Regions from separate parts of the Homo sapiens genome. Here regions 1, 2, 4, 5 and 6 are each linked to region 3. Evidence: promoter capture Hi-C in 16 types of primary human blood cells and fetal thymus (Javierre and others, 2016). All regions are on one chromosome and are shown on one strand. Each heading gives the region's core, a stretch centred on a gene start or on the middle of the fragment in contact. The rest is flanking DNA. Distances are from core to core; before and after follow the strand shown. Region 1 has its middle 30 kb from the start of SYK. Region 2 overlaps SYK (spleen associated tyrosine kinase). Region 3 holds the start of GADD45G (growth arrest and DNA damage inducible gamma). Region 4 overlaps SYK (spleen associated tyrosine kinase). Region 5 has its middle 57 kb from the start of DIRAS2. Region 6 has its middle 14 kb from the start of SYK.

Region 1 (3,839 bases), core at 145-2,644, 1.2 Mb before region 3:
TATCTTTTATATCCATACACTGCTAGGATTCAGATCTGAAAGTCAGATTGCCCTAATAAACTAGTAGGGGCTCCTTGGGTGACAAAGCCACTCTGACAGTGACTTCATTGGCTGTTCATTGGCCACATACCCTCGCCTGGTTCTCTGAAGAGACATCACATCGCAGGATGTGATGAACACTAGTTTTTATTTTCTTAGCAATATTTCATTAATTCTTGGTGTGTCGTAGTGAATAAATTACTGTCAACATCTTTTGAGCACCCAACATGCCAGAGCATTTCTAAACAAAGGCAATTGACAAAAGATGTAGAATACAAATGTTTGAGCGCTTAAGGGCTGGGTGCTTTTTAAGTGCTTTATCTGTATGACTGTGTTATGTCCTCACAACAGCCCTACAGGTATTATCATCATCCCCGTTTTACAGATGGGAAAACTCACCCAGAGGTGCTACGGAACTTGCGCAAGATCACAGAGCTATGAGAGCAGAGCAGGGAAGCAGCCCCGGATGGGCGGATTTCAAAGTCTGCACTCTCCATTCCTACTCCTTCCTGCTTCTCAGTGTCAGCAAGAGCAAATCTCATGAGCTCTAGAGCATCCTGGCAACCTTCTGGGAGGGATGCTCTTTACCTTGATCTATCTATGTTGGGTTCCAGAATCTTCTCCCTAAATGTAAATGTAACAGGAACTGTTGGTGACTCACTCACACCCCTCTGGCCTGGGGGGTTCTATCTGAGTTGCAACTTCTTCTTTGCCTGAGGACATTCTCCTAAGCCTCAGGAGGCCTCTCTGCCCATGTCCAGGGTGGTTTGAGTGCTAGGGAATTAATAGCCCTGGCAGCCCTCCACCAATGACTGACAGGCCGGTGTCTGAATGTCCCAGCTCCCTCATCCTTCAGGAAGAAGCACAGATTTTTCTGCAGTTTCCTTGTGCTCCAGCGGCTCACAAATGCGCTGCCTTCCCTTCCTGGTCTCACCTTCCCCTCCTGGTCCCATGTCCCTGCTCCCTTGCTGGGGTACCTTGCACCTGCCAAATAAATTCTTTCTACTGGGATCTCAAATCTGCGTCTGCTTCTGAAAAAGCCAAGGTAGAAGGGATGAAAGTGTCCACATTTAACAGTAACTTGGGACTTCCTGAAGATATCCAAGGATTTTTTGGGAAAGACTGAATTTACATTCTGAAATGAGAGCTGGCATCAGTTAAATGAACATACTAATTAAAAAGCTCCCCTTGGCAGGGAGCTGGTTCTTCCTTCTTGTCATGATGGTTAGGGGAGTGGGGTCTGGGTCGCCTCTTCTCGTGACCTAAGTGCTTTGTGATCACTTACATGGCTTGCCCACTTCCCTCTTCAGTGCCTGGTTCTGGATCCTGGTAGCACCTTCATCTGTGCTTGTGGCCAGGAATGGGCATTGCTGCTACAGCCATGGCCCCACCCTGCACACATGGATCTACCTTCTCTTCTTTGTGGCCCACCTTCCTGGCTCAGGGACGCTGCTTCTGCTTGAATTCCAAATGGAAAATGGATGCTCCCCTTGGAGACTGCTTTTCTGTGTAGCAGAGAGCACATTGTTTATACTAACAGTAAATCCATGGATTCTGTCTTCTAATAACAGGTTGGTTATTTACAATGTGCCAGGCATTATTAGAAGTGCTTTGCTTATATTAATTAGATTGTCATAAAACTCTGTGAAGTATGTGCTATTATTTTCTTCATTTTACAGATAAACTGAGGGACAGAGAATTCAAACAACTTGGCCCAAGCTATACATTGAGTAAATGGTACTATCTTGTGTCAGATCCAGATTTGTAATGGAGGAAACCAAAATATTTCACCTCCAAATATCCTTCTTTGACATATTTTGAGGTGGCTGTTCAGAGGGCCTGCAAACAGAGGTAGCCTTGCAAAGCTGTCCTTTGCGGGGAGATTTGCATCTGTACAGAATCAGCATGGTGCAGCCAGGTTTTCTCTGAGGCTAACCCTTGTCCAGATCAAGAAAAGATTAACAGAGTCTGACACCTTAAATTTCTGAAATAAACATTTACCATCTATTCTCTCTGAGGACTGCTACCTGTAAGGTTTCACCTGTATAATAAGACCACATTTGCAAGCCAGACCTCCTCTTCTCTTCCTCCCATAACCTGCCTTGACATCATAACCTGATTTACCACCGCAACCAGTTTTTGGCCGTACTCCAAGCCCACATTTTTTCTGTAACCTTAAGCTGTGTATAGGCTGGATGTGGTGACTCCTGCCTATAATCCCAGCACTTTGGGAGGCCAAGGCAGGAGGATCACTTGAGGCCAGGAGTTCAAGTTCAAGGCAACATAGCGAGACCCCCATCTCTACAAAAAGTGAAAAGAATTAGCCAGCCATGGTGGCACAGGCCTACAGTTCCAGCTACTCAGGAGGCTGAGGCGGGATTGCTTGAAGGACTGCTTGAGCCCAGGAGTTTGAGGCTACAGTAACCATGATCCTGCCATTGCACTACAGCCTGGGCAAGAGAGTGAGACCCTATATCAAAAGCCTTTAAAAAGATAGTGTAAAAGTCTCAACCTCCTTACCATTTCTTGGAGATCTTTGTAAGATTCCTGTGCACATTAATAAATATGTGTGCCTTTTCTCCAATTAATCTGTCTCTTGTCAGTTGATTTTCAGTGACCCTTCCAAGGGCAAAGAGGAAGTTTCCCCTTGGCACCCACAGGAACAACTGCCCCTCACTACCTTCTGCTTCACAGTTTCAAATGACTGGCCACTCACCAAAAGGCAGAAGAGGTTCATGAGTTCCTCTTTTTCTCATTTGCACTTGACCTCTTTCTCATAACACACATCCAGCCATGTCTTCTACATATTTTTTTCCCCAGTAAAACATCTGTGACTCATAGTTGTAAAAAATCAAATGAAATAGTAAAAATGTTTTAAAAGTACATCTCAGGGCTGCTTCCCTTAGAGGCTGCTGCTGCGCAACACTAAAGGACATACATGAAGGTGTGAGAGAGCAGCGTGACATGTGTCCCATGGTCCCCATGGTTTATACACTTGGTTTTCCAGAAAGCATCTCTGGTCAGCACAGATGCAGAATTTCTGGTTCAGTGCAGTTGGCTGAGCACTTGTGCTTAATGCCCCACCCACAAGAGACCCCATTGAAAACGATTTTGAAAGAGGGAACAAAATGTCACTGCAGACACCACTGGAGGTGAGGTGGCAGGTGGGATTTCACTTCGGGCCAGATTGAAGACTGGTTGAAACAGGGAAGAGGCATGCCTACCAGCACCATGATGGTTTACGACTGCCGTGCCAACACCTGGAAGTTACCACTTCTGTTCTAGAAATTTCTGAGTAACCCACCCCTTAATTTGCATGTAATTAAAAGTATGTATAAATATAACTGGAGAACTGCCTCTGAACTGCTACTCAAACACACGGCCTTTGAGGTATCCTGGTTCTGCAGAGGCAGTCACAGAGCTGTAACACTGTTGCCCCAATAAAAGCCATTTTTTTCTACCACCAGCTCATTCTTGAAACCTTTCCTGAGTGAAGCCAACAATTTTCCCAGGCTAAGCCCCAGTTTTGGGACTGGCCTGCCCTGCATCAAGTGGCATTCCTAGCTGCTCTCACAGAAGGCCTATGCCCTCCCTGGAGCCTCCTCAGTGCCGCCGTTCTGAGGAGGGTCCTGCCAGTTCTCTAACAAAGGATTCCATCCCAAGGTCATCAGGCACCTCTCCCCCTTATCCAGCTAGCTCCAGCCTATACTTCTTACTGCTCAAAAGAGTAAGCCCAACCAATACCTCCAGAAGTGGACCCCATATCAGCCCCTAAAAGTCAAACCTGTGTCCCTTGCAAG
Region 2 (3,824 bases), core at 194-2,693, 1.3 Mb before region 3:
ACAGTTTTTAAAAATGTCCAGTGACACAATGTAGCTCTTCTGAAATGAATGGAAAACACAACACACTGCTAACCAGTGGAGGGAGCTCTCTGCAGGGCTGGGAGACCTGACAATGCAGCTGTAGCCTCTGCAAGTGAAAATCCAGGCCGACTTGCAGTCATTGGACTGATGTCCAAGTGCAATCACCATACAGCAGCTACAGGCAGGGCTGGCTGATAGGGAGTATGGGAGAAGGACACGCTCAGATGAAAACATGCATGCAACGATTTTCACCACTGAACACACTGTTTTCTGTGATAGAAACTGTCGGCCCTGCTGGGGGACAAGATATTCACGGCCTCACTAGCCAGTGTGATGCCACCAGGGCAGCCTGCCCCTGATGCTCCTTTGTTACCTGCTAAAGAAGGACCATAAGGTAAAAGGCACCTTACCTTATGGAGTGAGCCCAGACCCCAGGGAAAAGCTTGGGTAGAACAATCCAAGGGGCAGCCTGGGTATGAGAATCCAGCCCAAGCTAGCTGCTCTAGAAGCCTGGAGGCCTTTCCCAGCTTCCCAAATGTAGCCCTTTTCACATGACCAATCCTTCAATTAGGTTACCTTTCTCTATTTGCCCTCCTTGGTGGCTACAGGGGAAAGGATAATTATTCCTGACCACAAGACACATTTTCACTAGAAAAGACTTCCTCGTGCTGGCCACAGTGGGAATTCTGCACACAGGTGCCTGCTCCACCAAGCAGAGAGGCTCAGGAGATTGTCCAGGGACAAGGAGACCTGGCCGGACCTCTGCAGGGAGGTGAGGCCCCTGCCCCCATCTTGTCCCATCACATTCTGGATGTTTGGCATCCCCAGGCTCCTGGGAGGGGAGAAGTGCTGATAAAAAGGCCAAAAATCACACAGAAAGAAGACAGAAAACTCCACGCACTTCCTACATAGGTGCTACCGTATTCCTACGAGCACGGGGCCTGTGTTGAAGACTCCCTCTGGAAGTTACAGAAGGAAGCCACCAAGAGTTCAGCCTCACAGCCTCTTTCTCAGATGCAGTCACCACTTTACCAAACTTGGCACATCCAACCACTCCTTTCATAATTTTACACCTGTTTGTGGCCTGGCTGACAGATATTTTGTCATTGATCTTTCTAATTTCAGGGATTCTAAATGTGTTTTGAGAATCTGCTCAGCACTCAGGGATTCTGTCTTTAAAAATATGATTAAACCACCAGATAGTGTGATTTCAGAAAGTGTGCGTGGCTACCAAAAACTTCTAAACACAAGTTATATGAGTGACTCCTGTCTTCTGTGGCTGAGCTTGGGTACTGATTGTCTTTCTCCATGCCTTGCATCCCCTGTTAGAGGAGGGCCTGCTGTCCATGGCTGTCCATGCACTTTAAAATGTCTCAGGTTTAGCTGAAGACCAGATGGGTCCAAGTTTATTTATATCTGCTGGCATAAGAATGATGGCTAAATTACCTCTTTAAGTTGTTTTTTTGTTTGTTTGTTTTGACAGAGTCTCGCTGTGATGCCCAAGCTGGAGTGCAGTGGCATGATCTTGGCTCACTGCGACCTCCGTTTCCTGGGTTCAAGCGATTCTCCTGCCTCAGCCTCCCGAGTAGCTGGGACTACAGACACATGCCACCATGCCCGGCTAATTTTTGTATTTTTAGTAGAGATGGGGTTTTACCATATTGGCCAGGCTAGTCTCAAACTCCTTACCTCAAGTGATCCACCCGCCTCGGCCTCCTAAAGTGCTGAGATGTCTCTTTAACTTTCAAGAGGTACAGCAAAACTGAAATCAATGGGTGATGACTTCTTAAAGATCAAACATGAAGATGAGGATTAGTTAAGACCAGAAAATCATTCTCCGATCTTGTATCTTCAACTCAAATTCACACTCCAAAAGGCCTGTTTGTGGTGAGGCTCAGGGTCTTTGGCTTGTTCTGAATTAATACTTTCTTTGGAAACTCTTTAGATGGCTTTGATCCCTGTGCTGCCCCCCATTGCAGACACAGAAAGCGACAGGGGATTCTGGCGGCACCCTCTCTGTGGAGGAGAGGAAGGTGTGGACCACGTTCAGAGGAAGGCAGCCTGAAGCTGTCCTCAGTGAGATGCTGGGGGATGGGCCTCTTGCCCCTGCTGTGCAGCCTCCATGCAGGGCTTTATTTACCAGTCACCAGGTCTTCAAGACAGTCTGCAGGAGAGAGGATTTCAGGGGGAAAGTAAGCCAAGCCAATTCATTCTCATGGTCCCCTTTTATCACAAACATGTAAGTCTTCCATCTCATAACAGAGACAGCAAAAGCAGTATCCAGGCCTTTTTTTTTTTTCTTTCTTTCTTTCCTTAACTGGCTACATGCTTAGAAACTGCACTGGTCAAACTTGATTTTCTTTTTAAAGCCTCAAAACATTTTTATTGTCAGGAAAGCTTTTCAGTGGCCAGGGATCAGTCTCATGGCCGTAGAAGCAGCCAAATTCCTCTGCCTTTGCCTTCCCTTCAGGAGTCACATGCTAAGGCATCCTTGGGCATTTGGAAAAGGCCGCTTGGGGTGAGAGTGCTCTAGGCCACTCTGCAATGTCCCTGGGCCCGATGAGTAACAAATGCACCCCGGGACCCAGAGAAGTGGAAAGACATGAAAGGGATTTGGAAACAGATCGTAAAAATAACCTGTATGAAAATCACACAGACAAGAAAACAAACAAATCCAGCTAGCCCCTTGGATCCTGCCATCCGTCTTTTCTCCCGGGACTGCCTTTGCTTTGTGGAGGGTGAGTCCTGGGACAGGCTTTGGGTGACAAGTTGTGGGCATGTTCCATCCAAGCCTGGCTCTCCCGACTGGCAGAGGGAGGTGGCTGACAATCAATTCCTCTGGATACATTTTCCTGTGATTGCTCCTGTGATCAAAGGCAGCCACCGACAGGTGCGGGAGCGGTTAGTTCACCACGTCATAGTAGTAATTGCGCAGCCGCAGTTCCACTGCTGCGAATCCGGGCCTGTTTTCCACACTGGAATGGAAGAGATGCATTCTTGTTTGTCAATGTGCTTGTGAAAAATTGCTGATCACAAGCAGGGCCTCTGCAGGCTGAGTACCAGTGGTGCTGCTCCCTGGTGGCTAACTCTAGGGCCTGCAGCTCACAGCGTGGTCCCTGTGCCCCCCACCCCAGGGTGACCACAAGGCTGTCAAAAATAGTGTCGGCCTACTGTAGACCTAAATAACCCATATCTGCACTTTAACAAGACCTCCCGGTGATTCATGTCCACCCTAAAGTAGGAGACTTTTTGCATTAGAACTGGGAGTGTTTTAGCCCCAGGTTCAGATATGCGGCACACAATATGCTTCTGTGCCACAGGCAACACGAAGAGGCTGTCACTCTGTGATTTTAGCAAAACAGGTGTCTGAAAATACTTGGCAAATGTTCTGCAGATATAGTCAACATCTGACTCATAATCTTGTTAAGAGAAGAAATACGAACATAACTTTAATTCTCCCTTTCCACGCTCTAATCGATGGCTCTGGATTTTCTGAAAATGGGCTGTTGATATGGGTTCTTAGGAAAGCTCAAAACATGTCATGGCAGGAGCAAAGACCCAGGGCTTGTCTATGATCCACCTTAATATAGCCAGTCCTTACTGCCACTGCTGGCCAGGGAGGCACTAATGTCAGTAAACTATGGGCAAAAGCATTAACAGTTCGCAGTCTCTAAACAAACACTTACAGACACTTCTGTTTTGTCTTACACAGACATCCTGTACAGATCAGTTGGAAGTAAGTACTAAAACCCTGATAATCGATCCTCACTTAGAAGTTATTTTTCTTATTTTGCAAGATTTCT
Region 3 (4,067 bases), core at 1,243-3,742:
CCCAGAAGGCTCAGCCTGCTTGGCAGTCTAGCTGACAGCACAAGGGTCCCACATGTATTTCCCCTGCTGAAAGCAGCTAGTTAGACACAGAACGAACTCAAGGCATATTGGTCTCATAAAAAAGATTGATTCGATCAGGACATTTCCCCCTAGTTCCTTTTTAAAGAAAGTCTTGGCTTAAAATATTTAATTTTTTTTTCCTATGAGTCTTTAAACGGAATTGTGAATAGCAGCAATCCTCGTAACTCTGATGTGGGCAGAGAACACTGAAAATAGTAGATAGCAGATGCCAGGCCCCCTCAGAATTGCTCATGCCTATTTATATAGATGCTGCCTTCCAATTTTTTCTCAGATCTTCCAAGTTCTATCACAGCCATGACAAAGTAATGACTCATACTTAAATGCAGTCATCAATGTCATATTTGGTATTAGTACCTTTGTAGCATTGCTTTGTGTCAGAGCATTTAAGAGGAAAAAGTCCCCAAGAGCAGGAGCAGTCTGCCACCATCCTCAGGGACCACAAAGGGCAGGGCCTGCAGAAGGCAATGCTCATTGTGCAGGAAAGCCTGAGGCCTCCTGCAAGCTGTTCAGATAAGCAGCTGTAGGAGGGAGGGGGAGGAGGGCCGAGGAGGGGGAGGGGAGGCACAGGTCACTGTTATCGCCTTGGAAGGCAAGACTTCAGCTGCTGCACTGTCTTATCTCAAGTATGCTCCTGTTTTGCAAGTTTAAAATCTTCCTAAAAGGAGAAAAGTAGGAGCCAGGCTCAAGTTCTACCCTAGCACTGGGCAGCATGCCCTCCCTCTGCCAGAGGGGAGGAGCCTGTCATTCTTGCCCGACAGGAAGACGGAACAGGTGCCATCAGTTCCACGGAGTTCCAGCAATCCTCTGAAACCCTGCACGCCACCTCCCCCGACACAAAGATCCCCTACCCTCAATAAAGAGCATAAGTTTGTTTCAAAAAGTTTATTGTAAAATTCAAAGCTTCAACAGCAGCATCCTTTAGAAAACGAAGCATTGCCCGGATCCGTTTTGAAAAAGCAGCGCAGTCGGCTAAGTCCTTCACGCTCCTGCAACTGTACCAAGTCCAGGGCGCCGCTCCTTCCTGCCGAGCGCAGGCTGCTGAGTCACGCCTGCCCGGCCAGTCTGTCCTTCCTGGCCCTGAGGCCAACGTCCTAGCCTAGGCCTTCCTGGGCGAGCAGCCGCTCCAGACACTTGCAGAGTCCTCAGCTCGGACCAGCCTGGCCCTGCCGCCACCGGGCCCCTCCTCGGGAGGCCGCGCCTCCTCGCTCTCCAGGCGCCCCCCCCGCCTGCCAGTCTCCACGCCGCACTCGGGCACCCTCGGAGGGCCCCTCCACAGAGCCAGCCGCGCTCTAGGCGCCCCGGGGCGTCACCACGTCGATCAGACCAAGGTCCCCGCCGGGCTGTCACTCGGGGAGGGTGATGCTGGGCACCCAGTCGTTAACGCTGCGGCTCTCCTCGCAAAACAGGCTGAGCTTCTCCAAGGCGGGATCCTTCCAGGCGTCCTCGTTGGGGTTCTGCGGAGAGAGAGCAGGGTCAGCCTGGCTGGCCGCGGGCCGAGGCGGGAACGACACTGGGGCGGGGACAGGACGGGACTGTACTCACCGAAATGAGGATGCAGTGCAGGTCGCCCGGCGCACCCGCCTCCTCGCCGGCGCCCACGATAGCCGCCAGCCGCTGCACATCGCCCACGCGCACTATGTCGATGTCGTTCTCGCAGCAGAAAGCCTGGATCAGCGTAAAATGGATCTGCAGCGCGATGTCGCCCTCGTCCTCCTCACCCGCAGCCAGCACACAGAAGGTCACATTGTCGGGGTCCCTGCGAGGGCAAGGCGGGGACCTAGGTCAGAACCGGCTAGCCGAGTTCTCCCGCCGCCACCCCTCCCATCCGCCAGTCTCCTCGCCATTCACCCCCGCCCCTGTCTCCCAGCCTGGGCCGCGTCTACACTTACACGTTCAAGACTTTGGCTGACTCGTAGACGCCGGCAGTGAGGCAGCCCTGACGCTGCGCCGACAGCAGCAACTCATGCAGCGCTTTCCCGGCACCCTGCATCCTGCGGAGGAGCCAGCGCAGTGAGCGGGAGCCGGCCGGAGGGCGCGGCGGAGACCCCAGCCCCGGCCACCGGCACACACCCTTGGCTCCCCAACTCCAACCACACTCCAATCCCGGCTCAGCGCCTGCACCCCGGCTCTCCAACCGGGATCTGGCGCCCGGACCCCCGCGCTCCCCTCCTACCCCGCGGATTCCCACCCTGGAAAACCCTGACGGTCGCCGACCGACCAGCGGCTTTCTCAGCGCCCTGAAACCCACCTGGCTGTGCTTTCCGGAACTGTGTCCTGGCCGCGGACTTCTTCCAGAGTCATAGTGCGATCAACCAGCAGCTAGTTATCCACAAGCGGAGAGCGCGGAGGGGACGCGGGCGAACACACTGACAGCCAGAGCTCAGCACGGCGCGCCCACCACCAGCGAGTGCGCCCCTACTACGCTGCGCGCCCTTATATAGGCTGGTGGGTGCGGCGCCGCCAGCTGGCGCGAGGCTGCGCGCCTATTGGCCGGCACCCGCTTTCTGATGTAAATGAGGCGGCGAGCCAGCGGCTCGTGCCAGAAGGCCACGTGGGGAGGGGTGCGGGGGATGACAATGCCTCAAATCTGCCGCTTTTGTTGGGGTGTTACCAGGCAGACTGGAGCCTGCAGATTTCATCTCGCCTGGCTTTTTTTTTTTTTTGAAGTCCTTAAAAGGAAAAAGTAAAAAAAAAAAAAAAAGAAAAAACCCAACCCACAAAAACCTTGTTTGCTTATATGATGCTGCAATTTGCGAAAAGCACCTTTATAGAAGCAAAGGGATTTTTTTTTGCATTTTGTATTGCTACCTTTCTATTTGTTTCTTTTCTTTAATTTGAAGTCTATGAGACTGTTGCATTGGAGCCAGAAATTAAGGTAAAAACAGGTAGCGCCAGTTAGAGGCTTGCAAAAGGCAGTGGGCACAGCCCCCTGCAGCTGACCACTAGCGTCCCGAGCGCGCTGGTGATGCCTGCCAGGCATACTCAATGTGTACATTGAGCCGTCTCTGGAAGATCCCACCCCACCTCCCCGCCCTTGGCCGAGCGCGGCGGGGCGCGGGAGACGGGGGCGGGCGGGGACGAGCAGATTGCGGCCGGCGCACGCCGCTCGTTTGCATTTCTATGGAGGGCGCACAATAGCAGAGGTCTGGCGTGTGGCGGTTTGCTGTAGGGACAATCGAGGCTTTCTCTTCATAGCAACACTGTCCACCTGCCGCCGGGTGGGGTGGGCAGGACCCCGCCGCGCGTGGGGGTCGCCGGGCTGCCTGGCGCGTGGGGTCGAGGCTGAGTGCCACTCCGTGGTCCCTGAGTGCACGCCCCCAGTACTGGCCCTGCTACAAGTAATTCCCTTCCATCCGTTCCTCGCACGGGTGCCGAACAGCCGCGCGAGTTGGGAAGGACGGAGAGCTGCTGTGCAGTCTTCGCGGCTGGACGCCCTGTGGCCGGGACCCCGCGGCTGCAGCCCCTGGAGCTTAGGTAATGCAGCTCGGAATCTTTCCCGGGGCGCCATCTGCAGGCAGGTTAAAAAGATCCTGAACCCCTTTTGTCCTCCCCTCCCCCCAACACACACACCCTTGCATTGGCCTGGCGCGGGGGAAGGGCGGTGGAGAGGGACGGCCACGGAGCTGCCCGGCCGGGCCCAGTGAGCCCTGTCCAAGCTGCGCATAAATAGAACCCGAGTAAGGGCTGCAAAACGCATTCAGGTGGGACTGCAGTTACCCTGGGGAGTAGAGGGCAAAAGGAAATTCCCATCCAGTACTGATGGAGTAAGAGCCCCTACGTCTTATACCATGTTGAAATATCTTAATTACTTAAATGCGCATATGTAAAAAGCCTTTTTTCCGGCAATGGAATAAGTCTGGAAGAGATCTTGGGAGAGTTTAATAGGCTAGAGGTTGCTGCCGTTTGACCATACACGCTGGCACTTTCAGAGGATTCACCCACTGAGCACCTTCTGTGCTACGTGAAAAGGCGCGCTGGGGGACACC
Region 4 (4,191 bases), core at 89-2,588, 1.2 Mb before region 3:
AAATTTTTCACTGCTTTGTGCACGTCACAAATGACTGCAAAAGTGCTGTGAGTATTGATTTTGGGGTTGCAAACAGATTTAAATGAATAGATGAATGCGGAGATATGGAATCCATGAATCATGAGGACTGATAATAAGTAATTTCCCTTCCGTCTCCCCAACCTTCCCTGAAAAGACCCAACCTCATCCATAAAGATATATAAATTTACCTTGGATGTTTTGGGAAAATAGTTATCTCTATGTAAGACTGTGTTCTTAAATATATTACTCCTATCTCATAAATCTGTGTTCATTTCAGGATTTTCTAGCTTGGCATTGAACCAGAAGAGGTAGCCTATGTCTCTGTATCCCTTTTTATTAACCCATCTGTCCTAGTTATCAAGGGGCCTCAGCCCTGAGATTCCAGGCTTCTGCTTTTCTTGAGACCCACTGAAGCATGGCTCCGGCAGGTGCTGCCTCCTCCCCTCCAGCCCCCTCAACTTCCTGTAGTTCACATTTCCAGCAGTCCTTAGCGATTGAAGGTGTCTCACTTTCACATCCCTGGGCCATTAGAGCCCTCCTATCATACAGAGACAGTGGGGGAAATAAGTGGTTCTCTGGGAAAAGATCACCTGCAAACAATTGTTGCCAAATCCATACCATTTAAGGGAACAAAAATCAGCATAGTGCAGAAAGATATCCAGGCTTATCACGCTCAAACCACACAGCCCCCTCAATGCAAAGCAGCCCTGTTAAGATGTGCCTAGGAATTTCCTCTGCAGCTTGAAGCTGAGAAAATTGTCAAGACTTGGGTGAAAGGAAACTTCATCTGTGGGTTAATTTTCATAAGAAAGAGGAGGCCGGGTGTGGTGGCTCACGCTTGTAATCCCAGCACTTTGGGAGGCTGAGGCGGGTGGATCACAAGGTCAGGAGATTGAGACCATCCTGGCTAACAGGGTGAAACCCCGTCTCTACTAAAAATACAAAAAATTAGCCAGGCGTGGTGGTGGGCGCCTGTAGTCCCAGCTACTTGGGAGGCTGAGGCAGGAGAATGGCATGAACCTGGGAGGCGGAGTTTGCAGTGAGCAGAAATCATGCCACTGCACTCCAGCCTGGGCGACAGAGCGAGACTCCATCTCAAAAAAAAAAAAAAAAAAAAAAGAGGAATGAGTCCAACCAGAGGGAGAATTGATCTTGCTGGTTTGGTCAGGGACTGGCTGATTAATTACAGAGAAATGACCAAGGAAGAGGTGATGTGATGGGACCACCCCACCCAGCACCAGGCTCTGCAAACAAGCATGTTTGACTCATCTGCAAAGGGCTGGGGGCACTGCCTTGTGCGGCAGAATCCCACTGTACAAAAGAAAACATGTGGACACAGACCTGTGGCCTCAACACTGAGGAACAGAACCCCAGCTGCAGGGCCTGAGTTGGCCTTGCATCCACTCCACTGGCTTCGTCAGTAGGTATCACTTGCCCTCCACGGCGCCATCCTGAGGCCTGCCTGTGCATCACACTGCACAGGGTGCCTGGTCTCCAAGGCACAGCCTTACATTGTGCACATTCTGCTGAGCGGTTGACTCTCCCATATTTGCAGGCATACATGGGGGACTTCTTAGTATATAGAGATACACAATTCAGAAACACAAAGTGAAGCTAAGGATGGTAGCATGAGGCATGATTTTTACTAATGTTTAGAAATAGAGGGATATTGAAATACTTGAAAACATTATCCAAACCTTCAACACCAAATTCTCTTGCTGTGCCTTCAGAACTTAAAAGATTGAAAGTGCATCAAGTAAAGGCTGATCTATCTCAACCAACACATAGACATTTTCAAGCTCTGCAAAAGACACTCAGAAATCTCTTCTCTATGCCCACCTTGCCATAATTAACACAGAAAACAGATATTACGCTTTGGTGTTAACATTATGTTAATATAAATGTTAACTGTGTAGTTATAAATAAACAACCAGCCCATCTGGTGCATTTAATTTACAATCTAACTGATTGATTCATTCAATATGCTTGTTGAGCATCTATCACGTGCAAGTCATTATGTCAGGCACCATGTGAGAGAAAAATGAACCTCCTGCCTCCCTGACAACAGGTAGGCAGAAATGGCTCACGAAAGTAAGAGAATAAGGATCTGGTCCGAGAGTTCCACTTTCATCCTGGGGACTGCGTGATTTCCAGGTTCTCTACTATCCTCACGTCTTCTTGCCTCTAAGTGGGACTGGCCAAAGCCACCTGCAGATTCTAGTTCTTGGCAGGACTCTGGCTCATGAAAGCTCACATGTCCGGTTCTTCCTGAGTGTGGTCTTCAGGGCACCCCACCCTCAGGCTCCCTTCTGGAAAGCAGGGTTCTGGGCCCACCTCAGACCCAGCAAATAGGGCATACGGACAAGAAGGGTAAATTTTAAACAGCTTCCTAGGTGATTTTTTTTTTTTTTTGAGACGGAGTCTTATTCTGTCACCCCAGCTGGAGTGCAATGGCACGATCTCCACTCACTGCAACGTCTGCCTCCTGGGTTCAAGCAATTCTCCTGCCTCAGCCTCCTGAGTAGCTGGGACTACAGCGCACACCACCACACCCAGCTAATTTTTTGTATTTTTAGTAGAGACAGGGTTTCACTATGTTGGCCAGGCTGGTGTCAAACTCCTGACCTCATGATCCGCCCACCTCGGCATCCCAAAGTGTTGGGATTACAGGCGTGAGCCTCTGCGCCTGGCCTGCTTCCCAGGTGATTTTTAAGCACTCTAATGTCTGAGAACCTCTGCTATAATCTAATATTGCCCTATTCAAGTGCTACAGTGTGACAGGGAGGCAAGTTGACCACGTTCAGTGTGAGCGAAAGCAAGTTGCCACTTGCCACGGGTGGGGAAGGGAGCCAGGGAGGACAGTCAAGTCACCGTGCTGTGCTGGTGACCGGGCCAGGCTGCAGGCTCAACCTGGGAGACATCTCTGCAGTTCTTCTCCACCAGGAAGAAGTACATGCCTCATCATACAGGTGTGCTCAGAGAAGGGGGAAGGGACGCACACGCAACGCACACACAATTGGTAATTAAAAAGAGAGCTAGCTTTTGTGAATAATTAACAGAACACTGGGTTGCAACCAAAATTGCCACTTAGCAATGTCCCTTGCATGCTCTTTTGAGCAGAAGAGGACAGGGTGGGGTTGCAGCCAGCGGTGTGGGGCGCATATTGACCCTGAGTGGGGCCAAGGATGTCTCCCCAGTGAACTGCACCATCTACCATGTCCCAGGGCCACCTCATCACTCACTCTTCTCTGGGGAAAAACACAAACAACCAACAAGATGCTAGAAAAAAGAACTCACGTTGAATATGCCTGATAGATCTTACTATATTGCTTTTATCTGGGCAAACCACATATGGATGATGAGAAGGGCAGCGCAGTTGCAGGCTTTCCTTGATCCTGCCCTGGTACCCATCCCAAGATCCTTTCCTACTCAGCTGTGAAGGCCTGGGCGGGGCGGGGGGGGGGGCGGGGGTGAGGCCACAGCAGACTGCAATGACAACAGCCGGCAGACCTAACATCTCTTGTCTGTGCCTTAGTGCCTTGCTGAAGTTTCCCGCTTTCAGGCTCTATTTTACTTTTCCATCACTACCTTATGAGCATAATCTTTATGGGGATCCTGCAGCTGCTAGAGAAACCAAAACACCTGACTTAAGCAAAAAGGACACAGTAAATGTGGATTAAGAAATATCTAGAGTTTTACTGAATGTCTATTTAAAAAAAATCGCTAGCATTCTTTTTCCTAGCCAGTTAAAAAATAATTGTGGGTGACTCAGGACTGCAAGATATTACAGGAGCTTATGATGGTCTCCTGAGATTTTATAATTGTCTTTCATAAACCTGAGACATAAATATACTCAATGCTTAAAGCAAAGTGGCATAGGTTATAGGAAGGAGAGAAGGATGCTTTAGCTGCATCATAACTGCAGGCAAGACAAGATGGCAAACCGCTAAACCTTCCAGCTCAAGATGGACATGTGCTCAGTGGAAGAATGTTAGCGGCAGAGGAGAGGAAACGCAGATGCAGGCATGAAACCTAAGTATCCCTCCTACAGACACCCACAGATGCGCAGAGCCTGAGGTTAGGGTTTCTAAATATGCTTGATTCCCACAAATTTGACCTACCTCCCTTTCCTGGATTCAAACGCAGATCTGGAATCCCAGGCGCTGGGCA
Region 5 (3,962 bases), core at 1,380-3,879, 1.1 Mb before region 3:
TGGCTCAAATGTTACTTCAGTGAGACCCACCCTACCTCCTATTTAAAATTGCAAGCTTCTCCCTAAACACCTTCTTGTGGATTCCTGCTGCACTTTCCCATCACCATAATCACCCTCCAATATACTCCATAATTTACCTTTCCTCTTACTGTTGTCTTCCCACACAAGAATACAAGCTCCTGTTCTGTATCATTCCAAAAGTTAAGCCAAGTTCTAAATTAGTGCCTATTACCTAGTGAATTCTTATTAAATATCATGAATTAATCTCTCAAGTTTTATTGATCTACCATCTTTTCTGTGCAGATGGTGTATTTTAATATTTTGGATCTACTACTGCCAGAAGAGGCAGTTGGCTGTGCTGGTTGATTTTTGCCAAGAGGGTAACTGTGCTGCAAATATTCTAACACAAAAGTGACCACTTCCAGTAAACATTCTCATCAGTGCACTGTTTATCAACATGCTGTATTACCTCTCAATCAAAAAGAAAGTCCTGCATCTACTTTCCTCTTCCAGCTACTACCTTATAGCTCCAATCTTCTTTAAAAGCAGAATTCTCAAAACCCTGCCCATTCCCACCATCTCCACTCTCTTGCCTCTATTCACTGATCAGAAGGTTTAATGTGGCTTTTCCCCACTGCCGTGGAACCGGCCTTCCCCGGGTCCATAGTTCAGCTCCCAGCCCTCGGCTCCCTGTCTGCAGCACCCTGTCTTCTTCTCTACCTGACCTCTCCATGGTGAAGCTCCTCAGAGCCGGAGTTTGATCTTCTCTGTTCTCTATTCTGTGGTAATCTTCATGAATTCAAATACCACCCTTATGTTAATGACTCTAAAATTGTATCTGTAGCTCTGAGCTCTCCACTGGAAGCCACACTAGCATACAGTACAAACAAGCTTTACACCTCCATTGGGTTTTTGCAGATAGCTCATTTCTAACTCTTCAACACAGAACCCTTGAGTTTCACCCCCAAATGCCCTTGTCTCATACTGAGATGAGGAATCTCAGCAAAGGGCACCACCATGCTCTCAGTTTTCAAGCCAAACACCTGGTGTTACTGCTTATCCCTAACAGGTGAATAAGGACCCTCAAGTGCATTTCCCATAGAAGATTGAATCAGCTGCCTCTTCTGGCTCTAGGGCCCCTAGCTGAGCCCGCATCAGGAGCACCTGTGCTAAGCTCCAGCCCGCTCATTAGTGGCCACATTCCACACTTGCTACTCTTCAATCCAAGCGCCACCAAGCTGCAAGAAAGCTTCTTTTCAAGTACAATTCAGGTGATATCCTGCTTGAAACACTCCGGAGCGCCGGAAGGCTGAGGCAGGAGAACGGCGTGAACCCGGGAGGCGGAGCTTGCAGTGAGTCAAGATCGCGCTACTGCACTCCAGCCTGGGCGACAGAGCGAGACCCCGTCTCAAAAACAAACAAATAAAACAAACAAGCAAAACAACCCACTCCTGAGTGCTTCTCAGCAAACATGGAATAAACTTCACTTTTCATTATGATCTCTGAGGCTCTCCCTCCCCAGAGCCTCTGTGCTACCTTCCTCCCAGATCATCATTCTCCAGATTCAATGTTGGCTCGTAGCTCCTTGACCATCATACGCTCTTTGCCAGCTCAGGGACCTCACACATGCTCCTCCGTCTGTGTGGATCTCTCTGCATCACCAGCTTCTTCGATAGCTTTCCATCTCAGTTTCAATGTCCTGTCTATCTTTGGAGTGCCCTTTTCCTGACCACCTCAGCACACCACTCACTGTGGAGACTTTCTACATCAGTCCTGCATTGTTTCTTTCTAACACATACCATAACTTGCAATTATTCCATTTGTTTACTGGTATTTTATTGTCGGTCTTCACCTCTGGAACACAAATGCATGTAAGCCTGGAAAGGCTGAGGCAGAGTCTCTGTTCCTTGCTGAATCCCCAGCCCCAAGAACAGTGCCTGATGTGGACAAGGCACTCACTAGATAGCTGTTAAATGGATAACGTTCCAAGAAACCTTCACTGTCAGAAAATGTAATCAGAGCTCTACATTGAGTTTCACATTTTATAAGTTGTCAGAAATACTTTCATTTAATTTAAATCTTTTAAGAGATGGCTGCAGCAGAAAAGCAGCAATTATAATAACACTTTCAACCCAGAAGGGACACCAAGCTTTTAGATAGTGAGAAACGAGAATAATTTAAAGTTGGAAAGGAAAAAATAAAAGTGTGCGTGTGTGTGTGTGTGTGTGTGCGCGCGGCGGGGATGGGGGCAGCAAAACAATCAGTGAGTTGAGTTCAGTTATTTGTGAAAGGATTTACAATAATTCTATTCGCAACTATCATGACCTCCTACCCTAGCCATGATTTCGGACGTTCCACAATGACATAGATCGTGTTTTGTGAAACTTATATGAACACAGAGGTTAAAGTATGTCATGTAAAAGAGATACATTTATATATCTCTGGTATTTTCCTATGACGGAATGCTTTTCAACCTTAAAAAGGGATGAAATTCTGATCCATTACAAAACAGATGGGCCCCGAGGCCATTATGCTAAGTGAAATAAACCAGTCATGAAAGGGCAAATATTATGAGATTCCACTTATATGAGGTGGCTAGAGTAGTCAAATTCTTAGAGACAGAAAGTAGGATGATGGCTGCCAGGGACTGAGGGGTGGAGAATAGGGAGTTAGTGTAGTTAGTGTTTAATGAGCACAGAGTTTCAGTTTTGCAAGAGGAAGAAGTTGAGGAAATGGATGGTAGTGATAATTGCACAACACTATGAATGTTCTTAATACTCAGTGGTACACTAAAAATAGTTGAGTCGGTAAATGTTATATTATGTGAGTTTCACTGCAGTGAAAGAAAGCACCCCCTTCCCACAAACTTCTTACTACATTCTTTACTTGGTACCCTCATTCTCTCTTATCTCTCTCATTAATTTTACATTTTCTTACTGCATTGTATACAGTCATTTGACTCCGCTTGAATCTTTTCTGGAACTAAATATAGAATGCATATCTTTTTAAAAAGTTGCACTGAACTGACGTCAGATGTGATGGAGTAGAAAGGACAAATGCCACCTTTATGGATGAAAATTAGCCACTGATTCCACAAAGAGAAGCTTTTACACTTGGGACTTATGTTGGTGACAAAGGATATTTTGCAAAAGTTCTCTCTCTTTTTAACCTTTAAGTTCAGGGGTACAAGTACAGGTTTGTTACATAGGTAAACTTGTGTCATGGGAGTTTGTTATACAGATTACATTTTATCAACCAGGTATTAAGCCTAGTACCCATTAGTTATTTTTCCTGATCTTCTCCCTCCGTCCACCCTCCACCATCCACCCTCCAGCCTCCACCTTTTGAAAGGCCCCAGTATGTGTTGTTCCCCTCTATGTGTCCATATGTTCTCGTCATTTAGTTCTTTCTACAAAATGATGAATATAGAGTCCTACCATGTGAACCAGAAACTGTTGAAGCTGATGACCTCAGAACCAGTTTGAGGGTTGCAGTCTTGGAAAGCCAATGATTACAACTGTCATCATTGTCAGCTGTCATCTGCTGTCAGCTCCTAAGGGGCGAGGGACCTCAATAAATGCTTGTAGACTGATAAATAGGACTTCCTCTTAATGGCATGCATGATGATTTTGTGATATAGGTGATTAGAGAAAAGATGGTAAGCAATTAATACAGTTGATGGCAACCGGAATTATGTTCCCCTCTTAAGCAACGGTGTGTGGGCAGGCTCTGGTACAAAGAGAGGAACTTTGAGAAAGAGGGTGCAGGCTGCTGTGCTGATGATGCTCAGGGAGCACACAGAGCAGCCCTCCATGGGATGCCCAGCCAGACATGCTCCTCGACAGGGTCCCCAGCCCTTCCTCTCTGCTCTTGGGACCACGCCCCATCCAGTAGCAGAAAGCTCAACTGTTGCTCCCAATGTCAACATGGCCCCCATGCATGTGCTGCAAATCCCTTAGAAT
Region 6 (3,611 bases), core at 47-2,546, 1.2 Mb before region 3:
ACATCGGGAGACCTCCGAACTGCCTCTTTTCCTCTGTTAGTGTTCCAGCTGGTCTATGTTTCTCTTGTTGCTCCTGGCATCATTGTTGCTCCTGGCATCTATGTTTTACTTGTTGCTCCTTTTAATTGTTAAGGACCTTCTTGTTTTTGAGAATACTTAGCTGGGACTTTGTCCTCTATTTCAAATAAAGTCGGCCCCCTTAGGGTGAGCTAGGGAGCTCTCTGCTCTTACAACCTGCCTTTCCACTGGGAAGAAACTCTGCTCTCTTGCACCGGACCTGGGAGTGGAGACAGTGGCCTGGTTCTCCTGGGCTGATACCCTGACTCTACTAGCAGGGCACTGGGTGGGGTCAGTAGCCTTCTATGAGTGGAACTTCTGCCTTATAAGGGTGCTAGGGAAGTGGCAATTAGAGTCCCTGGGGTAAAGCATCCACTCTACGAGTGGGGGCTTGGTGGGGGAAGGGAGCCCCAGTTCTCTTGATGCAGTTTCCTGGGATGGAGCTTCTGCAACCGGGAGATGGGTGTCCTGGGATGCAGTTTCTGCAACCAGAAGATGGGGGTGAGGGGATGGGAGAGGCCCAAGGCCTGCCCCTGCTGGGGTAAAACTGGAGCTGTAGACTGGAGCTGGGGGAGAGCACACCCATCTTCTTGGCAGCCTCCACCCAGAGTAGAGCTTGTGTTATGCTGAACACCGGGGAGGAGATGAGAGCAGGTCATGGCTCAGATGATGCGGGCTCTTGTGTTCTTACTGATATTTTATCATTTTTCTCAAATAAATAGTTTTCTACTTGCTGTGTGTCTTTAGGACAATTCCCAGAGATTTTTACGTGTTTTATTTTTTATAATTTTTGCCACTCAAAGAATTGTTTCATTGGAGAGAGTTTCGACGAAACTATCCACTCTTTCATTCAAGAACTGTTTCTCTTCTTTTTTCCTGAGGCACTGAAGTTAAAGGGTTTTTATTGATGGGGTTGGGGTGGGGAAAGCAGTGTGTGCCTCTCTGGGCAGGCAGGACAGGGCATGGAAAATACCAGGTGGAACACTTTGGCCAACCAGATTCCAAGGACCTGAGGAACATGGGCCAGGATATAGGCCTCCTACTGTCAGATTTTCTTGGGGCTGAAGTATTAGTAGCAACCTCCTCATTCCTGACCCAGACAAATAATCTTTGTGCCCTCCTTGGAGCCTATGCTGAAGATTACAGATGCCTATCCCAGACAGCAGAAAATTAATCTTACACAACCGACACTGTGTGACAAATAACTAGTCTTTTTCTTTCAGTTTGACAGTACTCAAATGGATTTGCTTATTGAAGTTCATACATGGTATGATGAGTGACCCACAGGGGAAATTTAGCTAAATATAAAAGAAAAATGAGAAAAATTATAACATTATTTTGGAGAGTCTTCTAATATAAAATATTAAATGAATGGATGTTAAATTCTGTTACATATTACTACACTGGGATTTTCTTTCAGTTTGACGGTACTCAAATGGATTTGCTTATTGAAGTTCATACATGGTATGATGAGTGACCCACAGGGCAAATTTAGCTAAATATAAAAGAAAAATGAGAAAAATTATAACATTATTTTGGAGAGTCTTCTAATATAAAATATTAAATGAATGGATGTTAAATTCTGTTACATATTACTACACTGGGAATCATCATCTATTTTAAGTGTACTCGGAAAAAACTGCCTAGAAACAAGGAACAGAGATTATATTTTCTGACTCAAATATGTTTCAGTATGAATAGGCATTTCCTGCTTGTCCATACACATCTGTTTTATTGAAAAATGTTTGAAAGAGTTGATTGATTTCAATTTCCAAGTTTGATCTAGGGTCGAGGTTGCTACCGTGAAACTAAATTCAAAATGACAAGATTATTAAGTTATGTATATTTTGTTATTATTAACCCAGGTAGCTGTAAAACTTGATTGCCAAGTAGATATGGAAGAGATGATTGATTGACCATAATTGTCCACAGTTTTGAACTCTTGGCTACACTTTCACCTCTGGGTCTGTGAGTCCTCAAGATGCAGCTCACTCCTCTCCAAACGGGGTGCTCTGTGATTTGTGTCAAAGACAAAATAGATCTCAAGGAAACTCTGGGGGCTTTGAGGCCAGGTAGGGATAAATGAGTGCAGAATTTGTAAGTAGAACAGACTTGATAAAGAACCCTCTGATGTTTCAAAAATAATATATAATAGAAAAATTAATAAAGGGGGTAAAATATAAGACACCCCAAATCCCAATCTTAGAGGCAAATATGCTCCAACTTTTGTTAATATTTTAGTATCTGTCTCTACATACAGAAATGTAAGTGTAAATGTTGTTACATATGTGATTTAGTAAGCTGACTATTGGATTAGATAGCATGTTGTGGAAATACTTCCATACTGTCTTCTTATTGACTATATATCATTCTCTTGAATGCATGAACCATGAGGTTATTAACCAACCCCTGACTGATACACAGTTGTTTCCAGGGTTTTGTTATTATGACCTACTATACAGGGAACACTCCTGTTTATACATCTTTGATCCTTGATAAATCTCTCTAAGAGATAAATTCCTAGGAGAAATGTTGAGAGTCAGAGGAGATGCTGTTTTATTTGTGACATTTGTTGCTAAATTGCACTTAGGAAAGATTCAATTCTGGTTTATACTTCCACCTGGTACAGGCTGTGCTCAGCACAGGGGTGCTCTCTGAGTCTGGTGGGGCTGAAACCTAGACCACCCTCTGTTTGACCAGCAGGGAGCTGCATCTGCCCCAAGGAAGGGGTGCCTGTCCCTTCATCATACACAGTTTCTATAGGAACAGGCAAGCTCCTGGTGTCAGGCTGTGAGGGCAGGCATTTCTGCTACCTAGAGCCATTAGTTCTAGGCATTATTAATGTTTTCATTCTGGGGTAAAAGAGATCTCATTTTTGTTTTACCTCTCATCCTAGAGGTAAAAGAGATCTCATTTTTGTTTCTAATTTGTATCATTTTAACTATAGAAGTTGAAAACTATTTTATATGTTTGTTGACTGTTCATATTTATTTCTTTTGTAAAATCCTTATTCATCAAATTTCTCAATATTTTTTATGAGATACTAATCTTTATTGATTTACAAAGTTTTAATGGATTATATGTTCATCAATTATGTTATTAACATTTTCTCGAGTTCATTCTTTAGTTTTCTCTTATTTATTCATTTATTTGTGCCAACAATATGATTTAAACGTTTTATATGGAAAAAAAATCAACTATGATTTCTAGCTTTGATACCTTTGTTATTCCAAATATATAAAAATGTTCACTCCTTTTTTTTTTTGAGTCTTGCACTGTCGCCCAGGCCAGAGTGCAATAGTACTATCTCAGCTCACTGCAACCTCCACCTCCTGGGTTTAAGCCATTCTCCTGCCTCAGCTTCCCAAGTAGCTGGGATTACAGACGCCCGCCAGCATGCCTGGCTAATTTTTTTGTATTTTTAGTGGAGACGGGGTTTCACTATGTTTGCCAGGCTGGTCTCAAACTCCTGACCTCGTGATCTCCCCATCTTGGCCTCCCACAGTGCTGGGATTACAGGCGTGAGCCATAGCACCTGGCCACCTTTTCACATT

What was found. The method cuts DNA at HindIII sites, captures the fragments that hold promoters and counts their contacts. A CHiCAGO score of 5 or more calls a contact.
Region 1: a fragment that was not itself captured here is called in contact with the fragment with the promoter of GADD45G in region 3 in 8 of 17 cell types (neutrophils, total B cells, naive B cells and 5 more); the score reaches 12.4 in neutrophils.
Region 2: a contact is called between a fragment that was not itself captured here and the fragment with the promoter of GADD45G in region 3, in 1 of 17 cell types (endothelial precursors). The highest score is 8.3, in endothelial precursors.
Region 4: a contact is called between a fragment that was not itself captured here and the fragment with the promoter of GADD45G in region 3, in 7 of 17 cell types (monocytes, megakaryocytes, fetal thymus and 4 more). The highest score is 10.8, in monocytes.
Region 5: a fragment that was not itself captured here is called in contact with the fragment with the promoter of GADD45G in region 3 in 1 of 17 cell types (monocytes); the score reaches 7.0 in monocytes.
Region 6: a contact is called between a fragment that was not itself captured here and the fragment with the promoter of GADD45G in region 3, in 1 of 17 cell types (neutrophils). The highest score is 9.4, in neutrophils.

The regions. Positions count from the first base shown.
Region 1 is chr9:90,769,463-90,773,301 of GRCh38, reverse strand. No RefSeq gene overlaps it. Among named protein-coding and RNA genes, the nearest start is that of SYK, 30 kb to the left of the region's middle. The HindIII fragment of the contact is 6,012 bases long and covers 1-3,839 here.
Region 2 is chr9:90,894,700-90,898,523 of GRCh38, reverse strand. SYK (spleen associated tyrosine kinase) reads right to left here. Exons shown (of 14, transcript NM_003177.7): 14 at 1-2,996. The coding sequence ends at 2,924. Among named protein-coding and RNA genes, the nearest start is that of SYK, 95 kb to the right of the region's middle. The HindIII fragment of the contact is 1,955 bases long and covers 466-2,420 here.
Region 3 is chr9:89,603,437-89,607,503 of GRCh38, reverse strand. GADD45G (growth arrest and DNA damage inducible gamma) reads right to left here and starts at 2,492. Exons shown (of 4, transcript NM_006705.4): 1 at 2,330-2,492; 2 at 1,971-2,072; 3 at 1,624-1,837; 4 at 949-1,535. The coding sequence starts at 2,382. The coding sequence ends at 1,425. It overlaps LOC105376139 (a long non-coding RNA gene), which reads left to right and starts at 2,488. Exons shown (of 2, transcript XR_930105.3): 1 at 2,488-4,067. RefSeq lists a silencer at 3,123-3,172 and an enhancer at 2,783-3,681. The HindIII fragment of the contact is 4,421 bases long and covers 984-4,067 here.
Region 4 is chr9:90,827,531-90,831,721 of GRCh38, reverse strand. The region is part of intron 1 of SYK (spleen associated tyrosine kinase); the gene reads right to left. Among named protein-coding and RNA genes, the nearest start is that of SYK, 28 kb to the right of the region's middle. RefSeq lists an enhancer at 720-789. The HindIII fragment of the contact is 8,521 bases long and covers 1-4,191 here.
Region 5 is chr9:90,697,794-90,701,755 of GRCh38, reverse strand. No RefSeq gene overlaps it. Among named protein-coding and RNA genes, the nearest start is that of DIRAS2, 57 kb to the right of the region's middle. The HindIII fragment of the contact is 955 bases long and covers 2,152-3,106 here.
Region 6 is chr9:90,786,381-90,789,991 of GRCh38, reverse strand. No RefSeq gene overlaps it. Among named protein-coding and RNA genes, the nearest start is that of SYK, 14 kb to the left of the region's middle. The HindIII fragment of the contact is 4,892 bases long and covers 1-3,611 here.